2 separate regions of the Homo sapiens genome follow, and region 2 is linked to region 1. Evidence: promoter capture Hi-C in 16 types of primary human blood cells and fetal thymus (Javierre and others, 2016). All regions are on one chromosome and are shown on one strand. Each heading gives the region's core, a stretch centred on a gene start or on the middle of the fragment in contact. The rest is flanking DNA. Distances are from core to core; before and after follow the strand shown.

Region 1 (5,418 bases), core at 1,633-4,132:
TAGTGGAGATCCATAGGAATGAAACTGTACACCTATACAAATGAATTAACATTTTAAATTTATATTCCTAAGTCAAATAATCAATACATTTAAGATATAGAATATGTCTACATATTAGATTAATATTTTGGTGTATCTGTTGGAATTACAGGCAAAAAAGCTAACTAAAAATAACTTTTAAAATTCTTCAACAAGAGCACACTTTGTTAAATTAAGTTTAGCCTAAGGCTGCCTCCTTATATATTTTATGCCTAAAACTTTGTCTGTACAAACCTAAACAGAATTGTTAACAAACTGTAACCTGCTCTTGTACCAGTCACCGAGTTTTGGCTAAAGGTGGCCACCTGTTCAAACCATGTTCAAATAAGAAAAACGTGGAGCTGTAACCAATCTGGCTCTTTCTGTATCTCATTTTTGTTTTCTGTATGTCACTTTCCTTTTTCTGTCCACAAATCTTCCACCATGTAGCTGCCGTGGAGTCTCTGAGCCTACTCTGGCTGGGAAACTGCCCAATTGGCAAATTGTTCTCTGCTCAATTAAACTTTTTAAAATTTTATTCAGCTAAAATTTTTCTTTAACAAGTTTCACTCCTGTTGCAACAACTTAAATTTTAATTTTCATTTCCTATTAATTCTTTCTTCCTAAATATAATGCTTGAAAAAACAGCTTGCTCAAAGAACATGATTCATACTTTGCAAAAGGAAATATGTGTCAGTTCCATTTTGCTAAAATAGCTGATACATATATTAACGTAGGTCTGTCACTGAAAAGAAGTAAGTTGTGGGAGGCCGAGGCAGCAGGATTACCTGAGGTCAGGAGTTCAAGACCAGCCCGGCCAGTGTGGTGAAATCCTGTCTCTATTAAAAACACAAAAATTAGCCCGCCTGGTGGCATATGCCTGTAATTCTAGCTACTCAGTAGGCTGAGGCGGGAGAATAGCTTGAACCTGAGAGGCAGAGGTTGCAGTGAGTCGAGACTGCACCACTGCACTCCAGCCTGGACAACAGAGACTCTGTCTCAAACAAAAAAAAAAAAAAAAAAAAAAAGGAAGTAAATTGGTGGCTGACACCAAGAGAACCTGATCTCACCTTTAAAAGAATCTACCAGCTCAATTTTACACCAATATCCATACATATTTGACCTGTTTCTTATCCTTGTCTTCTGCCTCTTGGAGTATAGCAATGCAATCTCTATGCAAATTTTTTTATCATGCTTATAATTGCAAACAAAATATTCCTGTAAATAGAGTATAGAAGATCTGTACTGTTTGAGAAGGCTATATCCTGAGATATTTTCTAACCTGCATATTATTGAATGCAATTGTATTATATAATGCCTTATATTAAAGCTAGTATATCGACTTTAGATATGGAAAGTTTTAAATTTTGATGGTCCATTGTTCAAGACAAGCTTTTAAAAATTTTTGTCATTAAGATATACCAGAAATTAAAAATTAAAAAATACACCATTTTTTAAACTCTTAATTTTTATTACTATTTCTCACTTTTATTTCTAGAACACTTTTTCTGCAAGACTCTGAGTTTTTATCATTTTATTCTTGTATGGTAGGGTATCACAGAGCCTAGTGCAGTAAACTAGGTTTGTGAACTAAATGGCTCTTATATAACAGTTTCAATTATTGTCGGTTATTCAATGGAATTTAGATGTAGGGTCCCTGGAAAATAATAAATTTTCAAGATTAAATGTTCAGAAAACAAGGAAGTAAAATGTTTTTAAAGAAATCAACCATGGTTGATGTAAAGACACTTCAACTGGACCCAAATCCAAGTAAACATTGTACAAAGCTGGGTTTCTTCACGTAGTGCTCAGTGACCACCCTGACCACTAGCCCTCTGATGAAATGGCAGAGCCATGGCTAACCACAAGACTTGTTGACTTATTTATGCAAAGGGTGAAAAAATAAATGATTTGACATTTCCCTTTGGAACTGTTTACTTCCTTATAACTCTTCTCAATGCATGCATGACTTTTTTATTTCTCAAGCTGTAAATAAATGGGTTTAGCAGGGGAATTATAATCGTGTAAAACAGAGAATACACTTTGTCTTGGTCTTCAGCTAAGCCAGATGCAGGACGCACATACATGAAGATCAGAGTTCCGTAGTACAATGAGACAGAAAGCAGATGGGCGCCGCATGTGGAGAAGGCTTTGCTTCTGCCCTTTTCAGACTTTTTTTTCAGAATATCAAAGAGCACACGAGTATAAGAGATTATGATAGTCATTAAAGTGGGTATTTGTATAAAAGCACCAAAAATAAATATCATTAGTGCGTTAATAGATGGACCATTGCATGAAATTTTGAACAGTTGTAAAATTTCACAGTAGAAATAATGTATTATGTTAAACCTGCAGAAAGTTAGTCGCAATAGTAAACTCACATGAACCAGAGGATGCAGGAAACCAATTACATATGAAATACTTAGCAACTGAGCGCTGAGTTTGTTGGACATCATCACTGGATAAAGCAAGGGATTACATATGGCTACATAGCGGTCATAGGCCATCATCACCAGGAGGAAGCATTCTGTAGTTGCACTGGAAGCAAAAAAGTAAAACTGGGTGATGCACTCAGCTAGGGATATCATTGCAGTCTTGTCTAAGAAATTGACCAGCATCCTAGGGGTTATAGAGGTTGAAGTACAAGCATCTGAAAAGGCTAAACCACCAAGGAATAAGTACATGGGCATATGAAGATGGGGGTCGTTCCAAATTAGAACTATCAGTCCAAGGTTGCCCACCATGGTGATGAGATAGACCACCAAAAACACAACAAAGAAGAGGACGTGCAGCCATGGTCGATCTGTAAGTCCTGTGAGAACAAACTCTGTCACAAGAGTCTTATTTCCCTCTGATATATCCATACTCGTCACTGTAATAAGAAAACATGTTACAAAGACAATCACTAAAGATAACACAAAGCGGTAGCATTTTATTATATTTATACCTTTGAGTTTCCCATTTAATTAACAGTTTTTAAAGTCTAACTTACATCCATTAGTAAAATCTGTTTACAAAGTGTGTGTTTAGGTATTTGACACTAAAATTGGAAAATACTGAAATGAATGCATATATTTGAGGTGTAGGGGAGGCAAAATTTTGCCTCTACTCTCTTAGTTGGCCTGAGAATCAGATGGACATAAGCCAGATTCAGAAGAGAAAAGCATACAAATGTATAAAAGTTTTACATAACATAAAAGTCCTCATAAGTAAATGAAGACCTGAACATGTGGCAAAACCTAAAGGCTTTCATACTAGGTTGAACAAAGAAAAGCAATTGTGGAAAAGCAGCTAAATTATGCAGGGAGGTAAAAGGAAGATTAGAATTATTTTAACAAGCGTTGTTTGTATAGAATTCTCTTGGATAGAATTCATTAAAAAATGAAAATAATGTTTCATTTCTTCTGGTACAGGGAGGGCATCTTTTACATGGGAGTTTTTAACCACTTGTTTTGAGGAAGAAGAGGTGAAATTAGAATGCCCTTCTTCCATCTGCTGTTTCTTTATGTACCTTTAGCTCAAAATAATCCATCTGCCAAAGTGGCATATTTTGGTGTGGCATATTCTACCACCCTCCAGAGGCAATAAAACCATGTGGAAGACCATTGCAATGGAAAAAGATGCAAATCCAAAACCATTGCATGAGAAAGAGAATTAGGCTAATCATTGAATATAGGCATAGCTACCTAATTTTTATGGCATGACAAAAGAATTCATAAAAAATGGGAAAGGACAAAACATGTTGGAAAAATATCTGTAACATAATTTGCATTAATACTTATAAAAATATATACACAACACATATATTCTCTTTTTTTTTTTTTTTTTTTTTTGAGACGGAGTCTCGCTCTGTCACCCAGGCTGGAGTGCAGGGGCGCCATCTCGGCTCACTGCAAGCTCCGCCTCCCGGGTTCACGCCATTCTCCTGCCTCAGCCTCCCGAGTAGCTGGGACTACAGGCGCCCGCCACTACGCCCGGCTAACTTTTTGTATTTTTAGTAGAGACGGGGTTTCACCGTGGTCTCGATCTCCTGACCTCATGATCCGTCCGCCTCGGCCTCCCAAAGTGCTAGGATTACAGGCGTGAGCCACCGCGCCCGGCCCACAACACATATACTCTCTTACAACTTGGCAGGAACAAGTAGACAACCTAATGAAAAAAATGAGTGAAAAATATGAACAGATATGTTTACCATGATTAATAAATATGTAAAAAAAAACCGATAAATATATGAAACAATGTTCAACCTCCTTAATAATTAAGGATATTTTTTAAATTGTCGCATCGTTTTCATTTGTCAAATAAACAAAAAAGTAAAATGAGAAATAATATCTACTGATGATAGAAAGGTGAAAAAGAGTTGCAATCTAAAATAACTGACATAAATTTTAACTGCCTTTCAAAGCTGACATCTATCAAAATTAGTAATTTATATATCTTTGATCTAACAATCTCACTTCTGGATATATATTCTAGAAATATTGTCACCCAGATACAAACGTGAAACACAAGGATACCTAATAAAGCATTGTTCATGAAGACAAAGCCAGGAAACAAAAAGAATACTCATCAATTATAGAATGACTGAATAAATTATGGTACAGTCTGACTGTGGAATAGTCTTCAGATATAAAGAAAATGGATTTGAGCTGTACCTGTTAAAAATCGGAGCATTTTCTCAATGCATTATTAAGTAAAAAAATCAAAATAGAAAGAAATGTAAATTACATAGTTCCATTTATATTTTTAATTTTTTGCGTATAAATATAAATATGATATGAACATAGATAAAGATTAATTTTTTTCTATAACTTATAAACTATCTTTGAAAGAATTTCCAGCGTAGAGCTTCCCAAATGTTTTGGGGTAAATGTGTACAAAATGATGATTACCTGCATGTTAATAGAAATAAGAATAATAAAATGCTATTTTTACCTTTAGTAAGGAATATTTGGCATTGATAGTTCTAATGTAAAATTAGTAATAAATAACCTGTAAATTTTTCTTAGAAAATATCTATTAATGATCTTTTATGTTTCATGATAATTTGCATTTAAATATTTGGTAATAGACAACTATTGAGAGCAGGAATGATTTTTTGAAATAGTCAAAAATATCTGGAAATTATGTAAGATAGATCCACGTATAGTTGTTTTCATAGTTTTTTCATACACTTTCAACACTTTTCTTATTAAATTTTACTCATAAGGGCTTCATAGGTTCTATTGCTATTATGAATATAGTATCTGATATTTTCATGAAGTAATAAGATTGATTTTCTTCTATGACTTGGTTATAAACTATCTCTGAAAAAATACCCAGAGTAGAATTTCCCAAATATTTTGAAATGACCATATAATCTCCTTTGTTCCTTGAAAGAGAAACAAAGATATATTTAAC
Region 2 (4,890 bases), core at 1,606-4,105, 210 kb before region 1:
TGTTATCTCCTTGTAGTTTTGATTTGTATTTCTCTGACGATCATTGATATTGACCATCTTTTCATATACCTGTTAGTGATTTGTATGTCTTCTTTTGAGAAATGTCTATCATATCTTTTGCCGATTTTTAATCAGGTTATTAGATTTTTTTCCTATTAGTTGTTTGGGTTTCTTATGTATTCTGATAATTAATACTTTGTCAGATGGGTAGTTTGCAAATATTTTCTCCCATTCTGTGGGTTGTCTCTTCACTTTTTTGATTGTTTGCTGTGCAGAAGCTTCCTAACTTGATATGATTCTGTTTATCCATTTTTGCTTTGATTGCCTCTGCTTTTGGGGTATTACTCAAGAACTCTTTGCCCAGTCCAATGTGCTGCCCATTGTTTTCTTGTAGTAGTTTCATAGTTTCAGGTATTCTAGTTCAGTCTTCAGTCCATTTTGACTTTTGTATATGGTGAGAGACAGAGGTCTAGTTTCAATTTCTGCATATGAATATCCAGTTTTCCCAGCACCATTTATTGAAGAGACTATCCTTTCCTCAATGTATGTGTTTGGCACCTTTTTTGAAAATGAGCTCATTGTACATAGATGTATGAATTTGTTTCTGGGTTCTCTATTCTGTTCCATTGGTCTATGTGAGTATTTTTATGCTAGTACCATGCTGTTTTGGTTATTATAGCTCTGTAGTATAATTTGAAGTCAGTTACTGTGATTCTTCCAGTTTTGTTCTTTTTTGCTCAGGATAGCTTTGTATATTCTGAGTCTTTTTTAGTTCCATTCAAATGTTAGGATTGATTTTTTCTATTCCTGTGAAGAATGTCATTGCTATTTTGATAGGCATTGCATTGAATCTGTAGTTTGCTTTAGGTAGTATAGACAATTTTAACAATATTGATTCTTCCAACCCATGAACATGGAATATATTTCCATTTTTTGGTGTCATCTTCAATTTCTTTCATCAGTGTTTTATAGTTTTCATTACAGAGATCTTTCACTTTTTTGGTGAAGTTAATTCCTAGGTATAAAATTTTATGTGTGGCTATTGTAAATGGAATTAATTTTTTATTTTTTTTCAGATTGTTCACTGTTGGTATATAGAAATGCTACTGATTTTTTGTATGTTGATTTTGTATCCTGCAACTTTATTGAATTTGTTGATGAGTTCTCATAGTTTTTTGGCAGAGTCTTTAGGTTCATCCAAATATAAGATCATATCATCTGCAAACAAGAATAATTTGACTTCTTCCTTTCCAATTTGGATACCCTTTATTTCTTTCTCTTGTCTGATTGCTCTAGCTAGACTTCTAGTACCATGTTGACTAAAAGTGGTAAAAGTGGACATCCCTGTCATTTTCCAGATATTAGAAAAAAGGCTTTTATTATTCCCCATTTAGTATGATAATAGCTGTGGGTCTTTCATCTATGGCTTTTATTATGTTGAGATATGTTTCTTCTATATCCAGTTTTTTGAGGGTTTTTATCATAAAGGGGTATTGAATTTTATCAAATGTTTTTTCTGCATCAATTCAAATGATCATATGGGTTTTGTCTTTTATTCTGTTGATATGATGTATCACACTGATTGATATGCATATGCCAAACCATCCTTACATCCCTGGGATAAATCCAACTTGGTCATGATGAATGATTTTTTTAATGTGATGTTGAATTTGGCTTGCTACTATTTTGTGGATTTTTGCATGAATGCTCATCAGGAATATTGGCCTGTAGTCTTTTTTTGATATGTCTTTGGTAGCAAAGTAATACTGGCCTTGTAGAATGAGTATTCCTCCCAGCTCTATTTTTTGGGATAGTTTTAGGAGGATTGATGTTAAGTTATTCTTTAGATATTTGGTAAAATTCAGCAATGAAGCCAATTGACTGTATGTTTTCAAATATCCCATCTTCAAGCTCACTAATACTTTCTTATGCTCGATCAGTTCTGCTATTAAGAGATTCTGACGTAATCTTTATTATTTCAATTGCATCTTTCAGCTCCAGAATTTCTGCCTGATTCTTTTAAATTATTTCAGTCTGTTTGTTAAATTTATCTGACGGGTTTTTCCTTGTTTGGAGACTTCTTATTAAAGCTTCAGTCTCCTTACTTGTTATTGGTCTGATCAGGTTTTGGATTTCTGCATGGTTCAATCTGGGGAGGTGGCATCTAGGATTTTATCCATTTCTTCTACATTTTCAAATTTATTTACATATGGTTACTCATAGTAGTCCCTAATAATCATTTGCGTTTCTGTGGTATCAATTGTAATGTCTCCTTTTTTATCTCTGATTTTATTTATTTGGGTTTTCGTCTTTTTTTCTTAGGTAGTCTGGCTAATGGTTTGTCAATTTTGTTTATCCTTCTATAAAACCAACTTCTCATTTCCTTGATTTTTGTATTGTTTTCCTTTTTTCTTTTTCATTTATTTCTGCTCTAATTTTTATTGTTTATTTCCTTCTACTAATTTTGGATTTGGTTTGCTCTTGCTTTTCTAATTCTTTAGGATGCATTGTTCTGTTGTTTATTTGAAGTTTATCTATGTTTTTGTATGTAGACACTTATGGCTATAAACTTTCTTAGTACCAATTTTGCTGCATCCTATAGGTTTTGGTATATGTTGCATTTTCATTTTTGTTTGTTTCAAGAAAATTTTCAGTTTTCTTCATTGACTTACTGGTCATTCAGGTACATATTGTTTAATTTCTATGTGCTTGCATAGTTTCCAGAGTTCCTCTTGTTATTGACTTCTAATTTTATTCCATTATGTTAAGAGATGATACTTGATATTTCTTTTTTTTTTAATTCTTTGAGACTTGTTTTGTGCCATAACATATAGTCTATCCTTGAGAGCGATCTATGTGCATAGGAGAATAATGTGTATTCTGCAACTGTTGGATGAAATGTTCTGCAAATATCTATTAGGTCCATTTGGTCTATAGGGCAAATCACATTTAATGTTTCTTTGTTGATTTTGTGTCTGAAAGACCTGTCCAATGCTGAAAGTGGGATGTTGAAGTCTCCAGCTATTATTGTATTGGGGTCTATCTCTCTTCAGCTCTAGTAATATTTGCTTTATATATCTGGGTGCTCTAGTGTTGACTGCATATATATTTACAATAATTATATCTTATTGCTGAGTTGACCTCTTTATAATCACATAACCTTCTTAGTGCCCTTTTATACTTTTTGCCTTAAAATCTATGTTGTCTGATATAAGTATAGCTATTCCTCCTTTTTTTTTGTTTCCATTTGCATGCAACATCTTTTTCCATCCCATTATTTTCAATCTATGTGTGTCTTTATAGGTGAGGTGTGTTTCCTGTATGCAACAAATCATTGGGTCTTTTTAAAAAAATCTATTCAGCCACTATATATCTTTTGATTGGAGAGTTTAGTCTATTTATATTCCATGTTATTGTTCATCAGTAAGGTCTTACTCTTGCCATTTTGTTATTTGTTTTCTGGTTTTTTTGGTGGTATTCTGTCTTCTCTTCTTTTCTTCCTTCTTGTTTTCCATTTAGTGAAGGTGATTTTTCTTTGGTGGCATGTTTTAATTTCTTGATTTTTATTTTTTTGTGTATCTGGTGAAGGTTTTGTGATTTGAGATTGCCATGAAGCTTGCCAATACTATCTTATAACCCATTACTTTAAACTAATGATAAATTAACACTGATTGCATAGGCAAACAAACAAATCAACAAAGATAAACAAATACAATTCACTTTAACTTTATCTCCCCACTTTTCAATTTTTTATTGTTTCTATCTGTATCTTATTGTACTGTCTATGCTTGAAAAGTTGTAGTTTTGATTATTGATCACTTCATATTTAGTCTTTCTATTCAAGATGTGGGTAATTTATATGCCACAATTACAGTGTTGTTCTGTTTCTCTGTGTACTTACTATTACCAGTGAGTCTTGCATCTTCACATTATTTCTTATTGCTCATTAATGTTCTTTTCCGTCAGATTGAAGAACTCCCTTTAGCATTTATTATAGGACAGGTCTGATGTTGGTGAACTCCCTCAACTTTTGTTTGTCTGGGAAAATCGTTATTTCTCCTTCATGTTTGAAGGATATCTTCACTGTTTGTATTATTCTAAGATAAAAGTTTTTTTCTTCAGCACTTCAAGTATGTCATGCCACTCTCTCCTGGCCTGTAAGGTTTCTACTGAAAAGTCTTTTGCAAGACATATCGGAGCTCCATTGTATGTTATTTTTTTTAATTTTCTCTTGCTGCTTTTAGAATTCTTTCTTTATTTTTGACCTTAGGGAGTTTGATTGCTAAATGTCTTTAGGTAGGCTTCTTTAGGTTAAATATATTTGGTGTTCTATAACCTTCTTGTACTTGGATATTGATATCTTTCTGTAGGTTTGAGAAGTTCTCTGTTATTATCCCTTTGAATAAACTTTCTACCCCATCTCTCTTTTTATCTACTCCTTAAGGCCAATACCTCTTAGATTTTCTCTTTTAAGGCTATTTTCTACATCTTTTAGGCATGCTTCATTCTTTTGTATTTTTTTTTCTTTCATCTCCTCTGATGGTGTATTTTCAAATATCCTGTCTTCAAGCTCACTAATACTTTCTTATGCTTGATCAGTTCTATTTATTTCAATTGCATTTTTCAACTCCAGAATTTCTGCTTGATTCTTTTAAATTATTTCAGTCGCTTTGTTAAATTTATCTGACGGGATTCTGAGTTCTTTTTTTGTGTGTTATCTCAAAATTCGTGGAGTTTCCTCAAAGCAGCTATTTTGAATTCACTGTTTGAAAGGTCACATATCTCTGCTTCTCATGGATGGATTCCTGGTGTCTTACTTAGTTCATTTGGTAGGTCATGATTTTCTGGATTGTCTTGAAGCTTGTGGATGTCTTTCAATGTCTGGTATTT

What was found. The method cuts DNA at HindIII sites, captures the fragments that hold promoters and counts their contacts. A CHiCAGO score of 5 or more calls a contact.
Region 2: a fragment that was not itself captured here is called in contact with the fragment with the promoter of OR5AC2 in region 1 in 1 of 17 cell types (endothelial precursors); the score reaches 5.8 in endothelial precursors.

What each region holds. Positions count from the first base shown.
Region 1 is chr3:98,084,637-98,090,054 of GRCh38, reverse strand. It overlaps OR5AC2 (olfactory receptor family 5 subfamily AC member 2), which reads right to left and starts at 2,882. Exons shown (of 1, transcript NM_054106.1): 1 at 1,953-2,882. The coding sequence starts at 2,882. The coding sequence ends at 1,953. The HindIII fragment of the contact is 8,836 bases long and covers 1,413-5,418 here.
Region 2 is chr3:98,297,952-98,302,841 of GRCh38, reverse strand. All of the region lies in intron 1 of LOC105373999 (a long non-coding RNA gene), which reads left to right. Among named protein-coding and RNA genes, the nearest start is that of OR5H2, 18 kb to the right of the region's middle. The HindIII fragment of the contact is 1,525 bases long and covers 2,093-3,617 here.